Linked DNA regions of Homo sapiens: region 1 is linked to region 2. The links are contacts of gene promoters, found by promoter capture Hi-C in human tissues and cell types (Jung and others, 2019). All regions are on one chromosome and are shown on one strand. The core of a region is centred on a gene start or on the middle of the fragment in contact, and the rest is flanking DNA. Distances in the headings are between cores, read along the strand shown.

Evidence for each region. Contacts are between HindIII fragments. The study calls those that stand out against the background at their distance.
Region 1: a fragment that was not itself captured here is called in contact with the fragment with the promoter of RAB38 in region 2 in 1 of the 25 tissues and cell types used here (lymphoblastoid cells).

What each region holds. Positions count from the first base shown.
Region 1 is chr11:88,804,909-88,810,933 of GRCh38, reverse strand. The region is part of intron 3 of GRM5 (glutamate metabotropic receptor 5); the gene reads left to right. Among named protein-coding and RNA genes, the nearest start is that of GRM5, 260 kb to the left of the region's middle. The HindIII fragment of the contact is 6,526 bases long and covers 1-4,726 here.
Region 2 is chr11:88,173,877-88,180,116 of GRCh38, reverse strand. RAB38 (RAB38, member RAS oncogene family) reads left to right here and starts at 4,674. Exons shown (of 3, transcript NM_022337.3): 1 at 4,674-4,934. The coding sequence starts at 4,733. MIR3166 (microRNA 3166) reads right to left here and starts at 3,615; the gene lies at 3,524-3,615. The HindIII fragment of the contact is 10,731 bases long and covers 2,155-6,240 here.

The DNA.
Region 1 (6,025 bases), core at 214-2,713, 630 kb before region 2:
CACAACCAGATTTCCTAATTCCAGTTCTGTTTCTCTTAAGTTGTGACATAGTTTTTTGAACTCTTTGAGCACAAGGAGACTATCTGCCAATATTGACTTCCTCTTTGGACATAGATGGCAATAAATAGATTAAACAAAACTCTTTTTTATTCAATGATCCTGGTTGGCATTGGTCATCTTCATACTGACATACATATTTATACTTCACAATTAATTTAACTTTGAATATTTAATATGATAAAATATCAATGACTGACACAAATACAGCTTCTCAGTAAAAGCTGTTTCCCTTCCTCCTATGCTGCATGTTTGTAGGAGCAACGAACAGGATTCATTCTGCCTGTTTATGCCTTCTTCAGGATGCTTACTCTAACAGCTCCCTGACCGATCTTCAGTATCTACTCTCTTCCTAATTTAATCCCTGTCTTGCTGGGCCCCACCATACCTTGCTAATCTTATATATGAGCATTTACTTTTTTCTCAGCTGTTTCTTCATGTAATATTTGTGTAGCTACAGATGTTTGTACAGAATTGATATTTGAAAAGGACTCATTCCCATGTTTTATTTTTACTAATGCCACCAGAGACTAATCCTCTTTTATTCCTCTTCATATACTCATTTTTCAAGAGCCAGCCCAAGTTTTTTTAACCAAAGCTTTACTCAGCTATCCAAACCTAATTATTACTGGCTTTTATGGATCTCAGTGTTACTGCCATACATAGCACCCTTCCATTATCTCAAACTTGCTAATCTAGGCTGCAGTTTTTCCAAACCATTTTACTCTTCAGTCTTTCTCATACTTGGGGCCTAATCTCCAATAATGAAAGTCATCATATTAGATGCATAATCAAAGCACAGAGGTCCTACTGTAACAGCTTTCCCAGTTCCTGTCCTCAGTAGTAGAGGCCTCTCTAGCCTTTATTTCTTATAAAGGAAAGTCCCTGAGTAGGGCAGTTAGATAAAATACAAGACACACAATTAAATTCAAATATCAGGTTTAAGAAACACATTTGTTTAGTATCAGCTATCCCTAAGATTGCATGGGATATATTTATGCTAAATTAACTAGTTTTCTAAAATTCAAATTTAACAGATATTTGATATTTTTATTTGCTAAATCTGGCAACCATATTCCTGAAGAATCTCCTCAACTTTTTTTTTTTGACATATTAACTGCATTATACCTGGTCTCAGTTCATCTTGATTGAATGTCCCTATATGATGTCATATCTTACATGTCTTTAATGCTGCCTTGTTTTCAAAGTACATATATTATTTTATTTCTTTCCCCAAATTGCCCAAGTGTATGTTTATTATCTTTACCAGTCATTAACTTGGTTGTTTAATATCACTGGGTTTCCATTTTCTAGAATATAGCAAAGTTAATCATGCCTACTTTGATGAACAGTAAAAATAATAATCTTTACAAAGATTAAATGAGATGAACTACATAAAGCAAAGTGCCTGGCTGACCAAAGGAAACAAATGACCAAATGAATCTATATAACCTCTACACTCCTCTGCCACCATCCTAATTGGCTTGCTTAAGATTGAAAAGCCAATATATGATGAAGCTGAGAGCTTAAACTTGAATAAACTGGCTACAGTTAAGAGCTTATTAGAATAAGCCTCTAACTTGCCCCTTAGAGGGGAAAGAAGTCTGATGAAACATAAGAAAATACAGTGACTTATCACCTCCTCTCCTCCAGCTGGATATTTCCCTCTCTCCACGATGAGATTATTTTTCAATTAATTCCTCCCTTATAAGAAATATATGAGATAATGCTTTGTTCTTAATTTGAATCAGTTGCTCTATGCTTTTTCTCAGTAACTTGTGAATTAAAAAAGAAATAAAATGCTTTTAAAGAGTCTAAGGTTAAACTAATTAACAGTCTCCAAACAGAAACAAACACGTTGTTAAAAGATAAAGGAAGTGGATTGTTAGATTCTGTCTATTCTTCCCCATGGATATACAAGGATGTTAATTAGTGGAACATGGATGCCGATAAATGCCAAACAATTATTTCTCATAAATCTTTGTGAAATGTGAAAAATAAAAATATATCCTGGGAAGCAGAATTAATTCATGTTAAGGGATCATATTTCGAGGTACATTATTAGTATTCATGAACATGGAACGAGCAGAATTCAGAGATTTCTGCCAAGCCAGGAGTTCATCTAGGAAGACTAAGAGATTGAAAAAGAGAAGCTGTTAAGGTAGCTAATTTTGATGCCATTTTTATTATCTTTCTTGCAATAATATTTTACATTCCAATATAACATGATGACACTGAGAAGTGTCATATGTTATGGTCACTATGTTACAATGTGGCTTTGAGAAATTCTCACCTCTTAATAATGTCTGTGGAAATATACTTTTTCACTTCACTAAAGTGGTTTTTCACAAATCCATGCTATTTAACTATAAAGATCCATGCCATTCTCTGCTTATCTGTTCCTGTATAGTGGAAACATTAAAAATGATAATCTAAATGCAAACACATTGTTTAATATTCTTTCTATTTATTTATCTGACCATCTGTAAATTATTTTAACTATACAGTTTACATGGTAAATACATACCCTGCATGCTGCAACTAAAATTCTATGGCTGTAAAGTACATATATACAGTATCTAAGGACAGCCAGATTTTCTTATATCTTGCTATTAGAGATTAGAAAATAAAGTCATTTCAAAACTTATATTCTAGTGGAAAATTCAAATATGAGATAGCAAGTAACAAGGCTTAAATACACATGTCTGTGCATTCCATATATATACTATGTAAAATGTCTCTTCTATAAATAATTGCCAGTATGTAATATATATACCATCACATACACAATTATTGAATAGTAGATATTATATAGTAATCAGTAAACACCCTATTATAGATTAACCAGTATCTAGAAATTTATAAATGAATATTCTATGAAAACATATGCTATAAAATGTCTAATATGCCTATTTTGGGGATTAAAATTATTCTATAAATGATAACAAATACTGAGAAAGAAATGTTCTAAAGTGTTATAAAAACTACATGGCAAATGAGAAGCAGCTTGTTAATTGACTAATACGTATAACTCAGTTTCTCTTAGCACATTTTTATTCAAATTGTATAAAACATGTTATTTGAATTTTGCAATTCATTAATTTCAGATGCCTAAAAAAAAGTAGTTTATATGAAGAAAATCTGCCTGCACTCTGTTTTTTGAAACACTAAATGCAATTTGAATATCAGATCTCTCTTTTGGTGACAGACTTGCTTAACAGACTGATTACCAATGATAACTTGTAGTTAGAAGGTTTCTCAAAAAGATGGCATACCATCAATTGCTCGACTCACAGGGCCCAGCAGTAAGTGCTTACCAAGTGGGTCCTTTTCTTATTCTCCCACTGACACCAATCTAGTTTCAATCTTAATTGCTTCCCATTTGAGCAAAAGTCTCCTAACCAGTTTCTCTTTTTCTTTTCTCTTCAGATTTTAAAATAACACTCCTATTGTAGATAGGATAAGCTTTCTAAAATAAAATAAAGTGACAAGATTTTATTGAATGGACATTACAGGCTAGGGACAGAGTTGAGTCTAGTATAGGTTTGTAGGTAGGGTACAAATTCAGTAATATGCTTCATTTGAGAGGATTCCAAAGATCCCCTTTCTAAGGTTGCCTGAAGGTTTAAGACAGCTTTTAAACATTTTTTGAAATTCTGACATTTTCCACCCATTCATGTGTTCAATAAGCATTTTTTAAAACTGTCTATGTCAAGGTTTATGGCAGAAAATGCAGATATAGAGGTAAAAAGGCAATGCCTTTACCATTAAGAGATGTAGAGTCCAGTGAGAAATCCATGTCAACAGATAATTTGTACAACATAAAATAAAATGCAAATACAGCCTAGGGAAAGTAAAACCTTGTTTTGCCTGGGCAAGTTAGGGAAGACTTCACAGAAGAAGCAATATTTGAATCAAGTCTTAAAAGAAGATAATCATTGTCTTGAAGTTCTCTTTTAAAATTTAAGCAATATCTTACAGTTTAGGGGTAAAGAAATGAAGATGTGGAGAGGTAACAATACTATCTGGGGATCAATTAGTGTATTAGAACCTTAACACATTGAAAGAATACAAGTATAAAAAGATGGGGAAAGTTTCACAGGATACCAAAAAAAATCCTAAAATACTGTATGCCCACATGATTCCCAGGATGAGGGTGTTGAAGGGAATAAAAAGCACCAGAGATGAGCTTGATCTACTCCATAATTAGGTATAAATCTAGCCCCATGTAAAGTAACCTCAGTATTGTCAGCCACAGAGCTATCCTCTCTAGCATTAGTCAATTCTTGAAAGCTAGTTATTTTCACAGTTGAGATCAACTGCCTAAAATATTCTATATTACTTTCTTGCCTCTAGAACTTGATTAACTATAGGCAGAAACCAAAGGAATTCGAACTCATTTGTTAATAATTAAATTGACCATTAAAATTGATGATTAATGGAATAATTAAAATGAATTAAGTCAATGTTGAAACATCTAGTGTATTTCTTCCAGAGGATTTAAAATAAAAAGAACACACCATATCTTTAATAAATTCTTGCAAATAAATGATTGAGAATTCCTGGAATTTCTGAAACTACAGACTGTGAAATTTATGGATCATTTTAGAAAAACAGACATTTTCTTGCTCTCCTCCTCCCTGTGGACCTACTGAATCAGAATCTCTTTGTATGAATCTTGGCTTGTGTATGTTTAATAGAGGTCCATAGATGATTTTGGTGAGCACTTCTAGTTAAGAACCACAAAGTTTTTTCTTTACATTGTGCAGATGAGAAAACTGAGGTCCAAAGGGATGAAGCAAATTGTTCAATGCCATGCCACTAGTAGATGCAGAATTGGGATTTGAATTATTATCTTCCTTTCCAGTGCTATTGGCAGCACTTGACAGCTGCCTCTGGAAGAGTCTGACCCTAGAGATCTGGGGCAGAGTATCAAAGCTAGTTATAGAAATAGAAGCCTTGATCAGAAATTTAATATGTCAGTGTCAAGGAAAAAAATAAAGGGAAGATTCCTACACCCAAAAGTTCAGGTAATTGTCAATTAGGGGAAAAACGTCAGAGAGATATATTTATTCATGAGATTGATGGGTTCCCTTACTGAGAAAACATTATTGAGTATATATTATGTGCTAATCACTGAGAACAAAAGGAAGGAGAAGACAAAACATTAACCATAAGACATACTCTCTAAGTCTTTAGAATTTTTAAAAGAATGCTTGATTAGAAGAGTGAAGATTCATAGTCAAATCAATACCGTTCCATTTGCATTGAAATTTCTTTTTGCTTTGTATTAGTAAAGCTATGAAGATGGTTAAACTGCTCTATTTTTTGGAAACCAACATTTAACATATTAAAAATCAATATTTTCTGTTTTTAATAAGTATACGGGCCGTGCGTGGTGGCTCACACCTGTAATCCCAGCAGTTTGGGAGGCCAAGGCGGGTGGATCACAAGGTCAAGAGATTGAGACCATCCTGGCCAACATGGTGAAACTCCATCTCTACTAAAAATACAAAAATTAGCCGGGCGTGGTGGCGCATGCCTGTAATCTCAGCTACACAGGAGGCTGAGGCAGGAGAATCACTTGAATCCGGGAGGCGGAGGTTGCAGTGAGCCGAGATTACGCCACTGCACTCCAGCCTGGCAACAGAGTGAGACTCTGTCTCAAAATAAATAAATAAATAAAATAAATTAAAATAAGTATATGGAGAAATATCAGCACTCATGAGTTGATGCATGTGAAAGTTGATACAACAGAAACTCTGGCTCCAGGTCTTTAACAAACTGCCTGCTAGGGTTGCAACAATCCCTCCAACACATGCATTTACAGGAAATAGTCTGTACAAAAATCACTGAATTTATTACAATCAAGCTTTTGGCATAAGACTTCTCTTTCTTTAGTTTTTTAATTTGTTCAATTTAAAGGATATAAGTGCATTTTTACATGGATATATTGTGTAGTGAAGTC
Region 2 (6,240 bases), core at 3,425-5,924:
AAAGAGAGAACTTTTTGAAGACAAGAAAGAAATAAGCTGCAACTTTAACTTGGCAGACCTATTTATTAAAATTGTGGTTTAGGAGAATTTTCCAAAGCCCCTATAGCTGTAGATCTCATTTGAGAGCCTCAACTTCTCCCTCTTCTTTAGGAATGAATATTCTTTAGGAAAGTCCTGGCTTGTTCCTGTTGTTTGGTGTAATTATTCATAGTGCCCCCTTTCACTCTCAAGAGTCATAGTTTGAATGATAAAATATATGGTCATTTCTTCCAGGCCTTTTGCAGAGTAAAATTCATCTGTTGTAAGATATATTTCTTGTATTAATCTAAGAAAAATTAGATTACCTTTTCTATAACAGAGCCCTTGGGACCCCATCTTGCAGTCATTTACATATTTCTTCAGAGCAATAATTAAAAGCTCACATAAGCTAATGAATAACTCCCCATGGCTCTCTTAATGGCAAAAGCAAATAATGTGACTTCACAGGGGCTCACCAAACACAGCAGCTCTAGGAGGAAAACATGAGGGTTTGTCCCTTCAAGTTTACATTTGCAAAGCAATTTGCAATCATTGTAGTTTTTCCATTTCATAAGACTAAGTACCCACATTGGACAGAAAGGGAATGGAGACTAAGAGAAACCTAATGCTGTGCCTTCTGGGATATCATTCTTGGCTTGAATTCTGAGCACTTTGTGGTCTCACACACCTTTTACAAACTTGAGTCATCAGCCTTCCCGACCTTGGTGAGAAGATGTGCTGTGGTTTAGCAATTTGAGGGTAGTAAGCTTGTCAAAACATCACCAGAGATGTTTTGAGAATTACTGTGGAGAACAGGTTTCCATGGTGCAGTGTGGCTGCTGGGAGGGGGACGAATGGCACAGCTGTTCTCTCCATGGGGAGGAAGCACTGGATCTTTTGTGTCAGAAAAAGCTGAGATCCTCCTGATAATCCTAAGCCATCTTGACAGGTATATGTTCAGGTTGGGGAAGATAGGTTCTGAAGAAGCATCATAATTGCAGGGGACAGGGTTGAATGAAAGAGGAGGCAAGAATGGTCTAGCTGCTTGATAATATCCTTTCCATCTATTCACTGTCTGGCTTGATCCAGTTTATAGTTTGTCCCTGGCTACCTGGCTCCCTGTCTGCAGCCTAGTTCTGAGTGTAGAAAATAAGTTCAAAGCAAGGAAGGGGAGTACATGAAGGTTTGTCCTCCAAAAAGAATGTTCTTGGATTGCCTTTGTCTTGTGGGAAAATGTACAGCAGCAGAGGAAAGAATAGCACCATGAAACCAGAGGAGAACTATGGCATCATGTTTGCTTTGAGATGGCCTTTCTTCCAAACCTAAAAGAGGAGAGAAAACATCACCTCTTTGGCAGTGGTGCTCTTGTGGGGTGACTAGAATCAGCTAGGGTGTCACTCCTACTAGACAATGTCTAGAAGACCCAGAATTCTGATATTTTAGAGTCCAAAGGACTTTCCAGAGATCTTGCAACCTAACTCCCTCATTTTACCCAAGGGACTTTCAGGTTCAGAGACCTAGGCGCCTTTTACGAAGATTTTACTGAACTGCTAGGCTGGGGTGCTTACCAAGCTACTGTAATCTAAAAGTCTTAAAAATATAAACCGAGAGTAATTTCTTCCCACTGTGAAGAATGATCATGAGACCTAAATGAGTACGGCTGGAAACAAAACTGCACATACTTCCTGCCTGGCCAAGGAACTTGCTCACCATGGTTGGCTGCTGTCCCTGAGAGAGGAATCTCCTACCCCCAGAGAGGCAATAAAACTGAAGCTTCAGGACCCCTTCCAAGGCCCTAGACCTAATTATATATTTTTGATTTTGCATTCTTTTGCTCAAAAAGCTACTTCCTCCAATTTTATCAGCTTCAGGACCAGAAATCCTGAACTTTGCCCTGCCTGTCCTACCTCATAAATCCAAATGTCTGATGTTCCAATATGCTCTTGCTCAAAAGAGAACAGATAAGGGTGAGGATGACTCTGCCGGGACCAGGCTTGGGAAAACAGTACGGGGCTGGTAAGAAAGTTGGGTTGGGTATAATTTTGAAGGCTGGCCCACAAGATGTCTCAAACTCCTACCTTGTTTCTACCCCAGGAGCTTGTTGGCCAGACAAAGCCTGTCTCTCAGATTTACAGACCCAGGATTTTAGAGCTGGCAAAGGTCTCATTTTGTCATCCTCCCTAATTTTGCAGGCATTTAGAATGGCTTAAGCATCTTGGGCTACTGAATTCCCCTCCCTGGGAAGTGAGGTGACATTGTTGGCTAATTCTTTAAGCAGGTAGAGTATTTGTCTCACTTGTTAGATGTGATCTTCTTGGTGTGTCCTCGCATGGGTGGAAACCAGTAAATGAGGCCTACCCAGCTAAGCACTTCAATAAAACACAAACGACTGCAATTCTACACACTGTCACTTAGTGTCCATTCTGAGCAAAACTTCTGAGTTACTCTCTGAGGAAAGATGAAACTGCACAGGACAGTGCCTGTGGACAGTATTTTAAGCTTGTCCCTCATTTCATAGTAATAGCTACAATTTATTTACCACCTACTATGGACCCAGCATTTTATCAACAATTTCATTTGTATTTATTTATTTATTTATTTATTTATTTATTTAGAGATAGAGTCTTGCTCAGGTTACCCAGGCTGGAGAGCAATGGTGTGATCTTGGCTCACTGCAACCTCTGCATCCCTGGTTCAAGATAGTCTCCTGTCTCAGCCTCTCAAGTAGCTGGGATTATAGTCACCTGCCACCACGCCCGGCTAATTTTTGTATTTTTAGTAGAGACGGGTTTCACCATGTTGGCCAGGCTGGTCTTGAACTCCTGACCTCAAGTGATTCACCCACCTCAGCCTCCCAAAGTGCTTGGATTACAATCATGAGCAACCATGCCCTGCCATAGGTATTATCATTCTCCTTTCGTTGATGTGGAAACCAAGGCTCAGAGGTTATGTGACTTGTCCCGGGTACACATCTTCAGCATCCCTCTGCTTGTTTGGGGCATGTGGAGGCTAAAGTTTAGGGAGTGTCAGGCCAGAAGAGGAAGGCAGAAAGACAATGGCCTTGCCAAACCTCCTTTCTCCCTTTCACACAGGCCTGTGTTTAAGTCCTAGTTCTAACACATACTAGTTATGTGTGCCCTTGAGAAAGCTGCTGTTAATCTTGGTTTCCTTATTTATAAATTGAAGAAAATAACCCACTTCATAAAGCAATTGAGAAGATGAAATGATAGAATGTGAGCAGAGCTCCTTCACAGCACATTCAGGTACAAAATAGCTCATTTTGGTATAAACTGCTCACCCCCTAGCCCTGAATGCCCAATTTCTCATTTTCTTTATGTCTTTACTAAATTGTCTCCATCTTACTGAAACCTTCCCTGGCCACCCTATCTAAAAGGCAAACCCCATATAATCTCTTCACATCCCCTTTCTGCCTTATTTTATTACCAATTAATATATGACAAATTGTATTTATTTTGTCTTGTCCTGTCTCCACCCACAAGAAGGTAAATTTTTCTTAGGCCAGTAGGCATTGTCTGCGTTAGGAGGATGATACAGAAATCCTAACGCAGACAATGCCTACTGGCCTCAAAAAAATTTACCTTCTTGTAGGTGGAGACAGACAAGACAAAATAAGTACAATTTGTCATATATTAATTGGTAATAAAATGTATATTGGTCAAATGAATGAAAACAAACAACAAAAACAACAAAAAGAAGTTGGGAACCTAAAGACCTATGTTTGAATTTGGTTTTTTTCCTTACTATTTGACTCTGGGTCCATTACTTAAAATGTCTGGTCCTTAGCTTCCTCATTTGTAAAATAGGAAGAAAAATGGTATCTATTATTAAGACAGCTGGGATGACTAAATGACATAATTTATAAACCCTCTGGCATATAGCGAGTGCTCAATAAATGTTTGCCATTATTATTATTTGTAATAATCTGACCGATTGTTAAAACTGTCTTTCTGTGCAGCTCTGAGTTTTTAGGATATGGGAAGAGGCTAAAAGTCACCAGTGCCCTTGGCATTTTCGGCCCAGTTGTCCTCCTTGTTAACTGATTACCAGTTGAATGGGTGTGAAAGTGCTCAGTGTTCCCACCTCCAAGCTGCTCAGAGGTCAGCATTGCCATTCATTGAGAAATAACAGGCTGTGAGAGCTCAAATGACTTACTTATGGTCCCTCAACTTAAAAACCAGGGCACGCAGGAACCAAGCCCAGCCAGTCTTGGGCTTCCTAATACTGTAATTTCTCTCTACAGTGTGGGGTAGTTAAGAGCCTGTGACTTCAGACCTGTGGTCAACGGGGCCTTTCACCGGCCATCTCCCGCAGAGTACTTTTTCACAATCAGTTTTCTCGCAAGCAAAACGTGGAAAATAAGATCCACACCTCACAAGTTTGTGGCCAGGGTCACAGGTGAAAACAGCTCTTCGGAAACTCTAAAGCGCCGGATAAATAAGCGCTGCAACAGGCAACCACACGCGAACCCCTTTCAGCTGCCAGTCCCGGGACTCGCTCCTGTCTCCTCCCCTCTCCAAGACCGCGGAGTAGGAAGGAGGATTAACCCCTAGGGGAGGAGTTCCGCCCCCCAGCCCCCGCCCCGCCGCCCACGCCTCTCTCTGCACCTACACTTGCGCTCCCCAAGTCTCTCTCGTGCGCAGAGCCCAGGCTGCGCTTCCCTGGTCAGGCACGGCACGTCTGGCCGGCCGCCAGGATGCAGGCCCCGCACAAGGAGCACCTGTACAAGTTGCTGGTGATTGGCGACCTGGGCGTGGGGAAGACCAGTATCATCAAGCGCTACGTGCACCAGAACTTCTCTTCGCACTACCGGGCCACAATCGGCGTGGACTTCGCGCTCAAGGTGCTCCACTGGGACCCGGAGACTGTGGTGCGCCTGCAGCTCTGGGATATCGCAGGTGAGCGCGGGGGGAGGGGGTCAGGGGGATAGAGCGCCTCGCGGCCGGTTTCCAGTCTCGAGGCAGCGGCTTGCGGCCAAGCGTGAGATTAAAATCACTAGGTCGCGAGGCAGTTTTTCCTGGTGGGCTGGAAACTTAGTTTCAAAGAAAAGAAAAACGTCTGAAACTTCAAGTGCATTCCCTGGCGCTTTTGGGCTATTGCTTTAGCTCCTTCCCGCACAGTCCCCTGGGATCTCTCTGCCCAGAGCAGGCCTCCCCAGGGAACCAGAGGAAGATTGTCTGCAATTGCATTCTGTTCTCCACTCCAGCTCGTTTTCTGGGCGCGGGCAGTTCTGCCAATGACGCAGCCCAGTGTCACGCACGTCCTTCCGTGCAGGGGCGGACCGAGGGGAAGCCCCTAGGCTGGTTCACAGAGGAAACCGGGATAGTTCCAGGCTAGCTGGAGTTTGCCCATTCCTGTCTTCAGTGGCTCACTTTATTTCAAATTTTGTCACCTTTCTCTCTGCCCTTAAGACAAAGGAGTTTGAGGGTTTTTGTTTTGTTTTTTTTTTTTTTTTTTTTTGCTTTTTGCTTACAGTAAGCCAAGTACTTTTGTGTGTATATGTCAGGGGCAAAGTATTCTTTCTCCCTCTCTTTCTGTATTTCTATCTCTCTGGCTCTCTGTCTTCTATGAAAAGGAGGTTGTGTGTATATTTTAAGGCCATTTTTATGTAAGGGCCTATGATAGCCTTATGATTTCTTGATTTGGCCCTAAAGTTTTCATTGAGAGATCTGAAAAATGAGAGGTTGTTTGTTTTTGTTTTTTACAATATTTAAAATCAGATTTTGACTCCACAGGTTTGTACCAGAAGTTAGGCCTAGTCAAAAGTGAGGGTGCAATGTATCTACTCCAAGTGTGAATCCTTGGACAAGGCTGTTTGCAACCTGCGCATGACCAACCCCTCATTACAGATTTTAGCCCTGCCACTAACTAACCTGCTCAGTGGCTTTGGACAAGTCTCTTCAGCTCAGTTGCATCGCTGTTAAGTGGAAAGGAGTTGGGCAAGGGTCAAGGATCTTCCTGCTCAGAAGTTTTAAAGTCCTCTGGGATTCTCCATGGGAACAACTTCAAACAGTCTTATTTCATGGTCTGTGACACCAGGAACCTTTCGTTATAAGTGCTGGACCCAAACTAGCCACTTCTGTTTCAGAAAATGGATTCATTTTAGCTGATGCATTTGATTGGAAACTCTTTATCATGGCTTGAAACTAGAACAAATGTGGAAAATTTTTGAAAGGGCATTTGTGATCTGGGGACTTTCGTGCC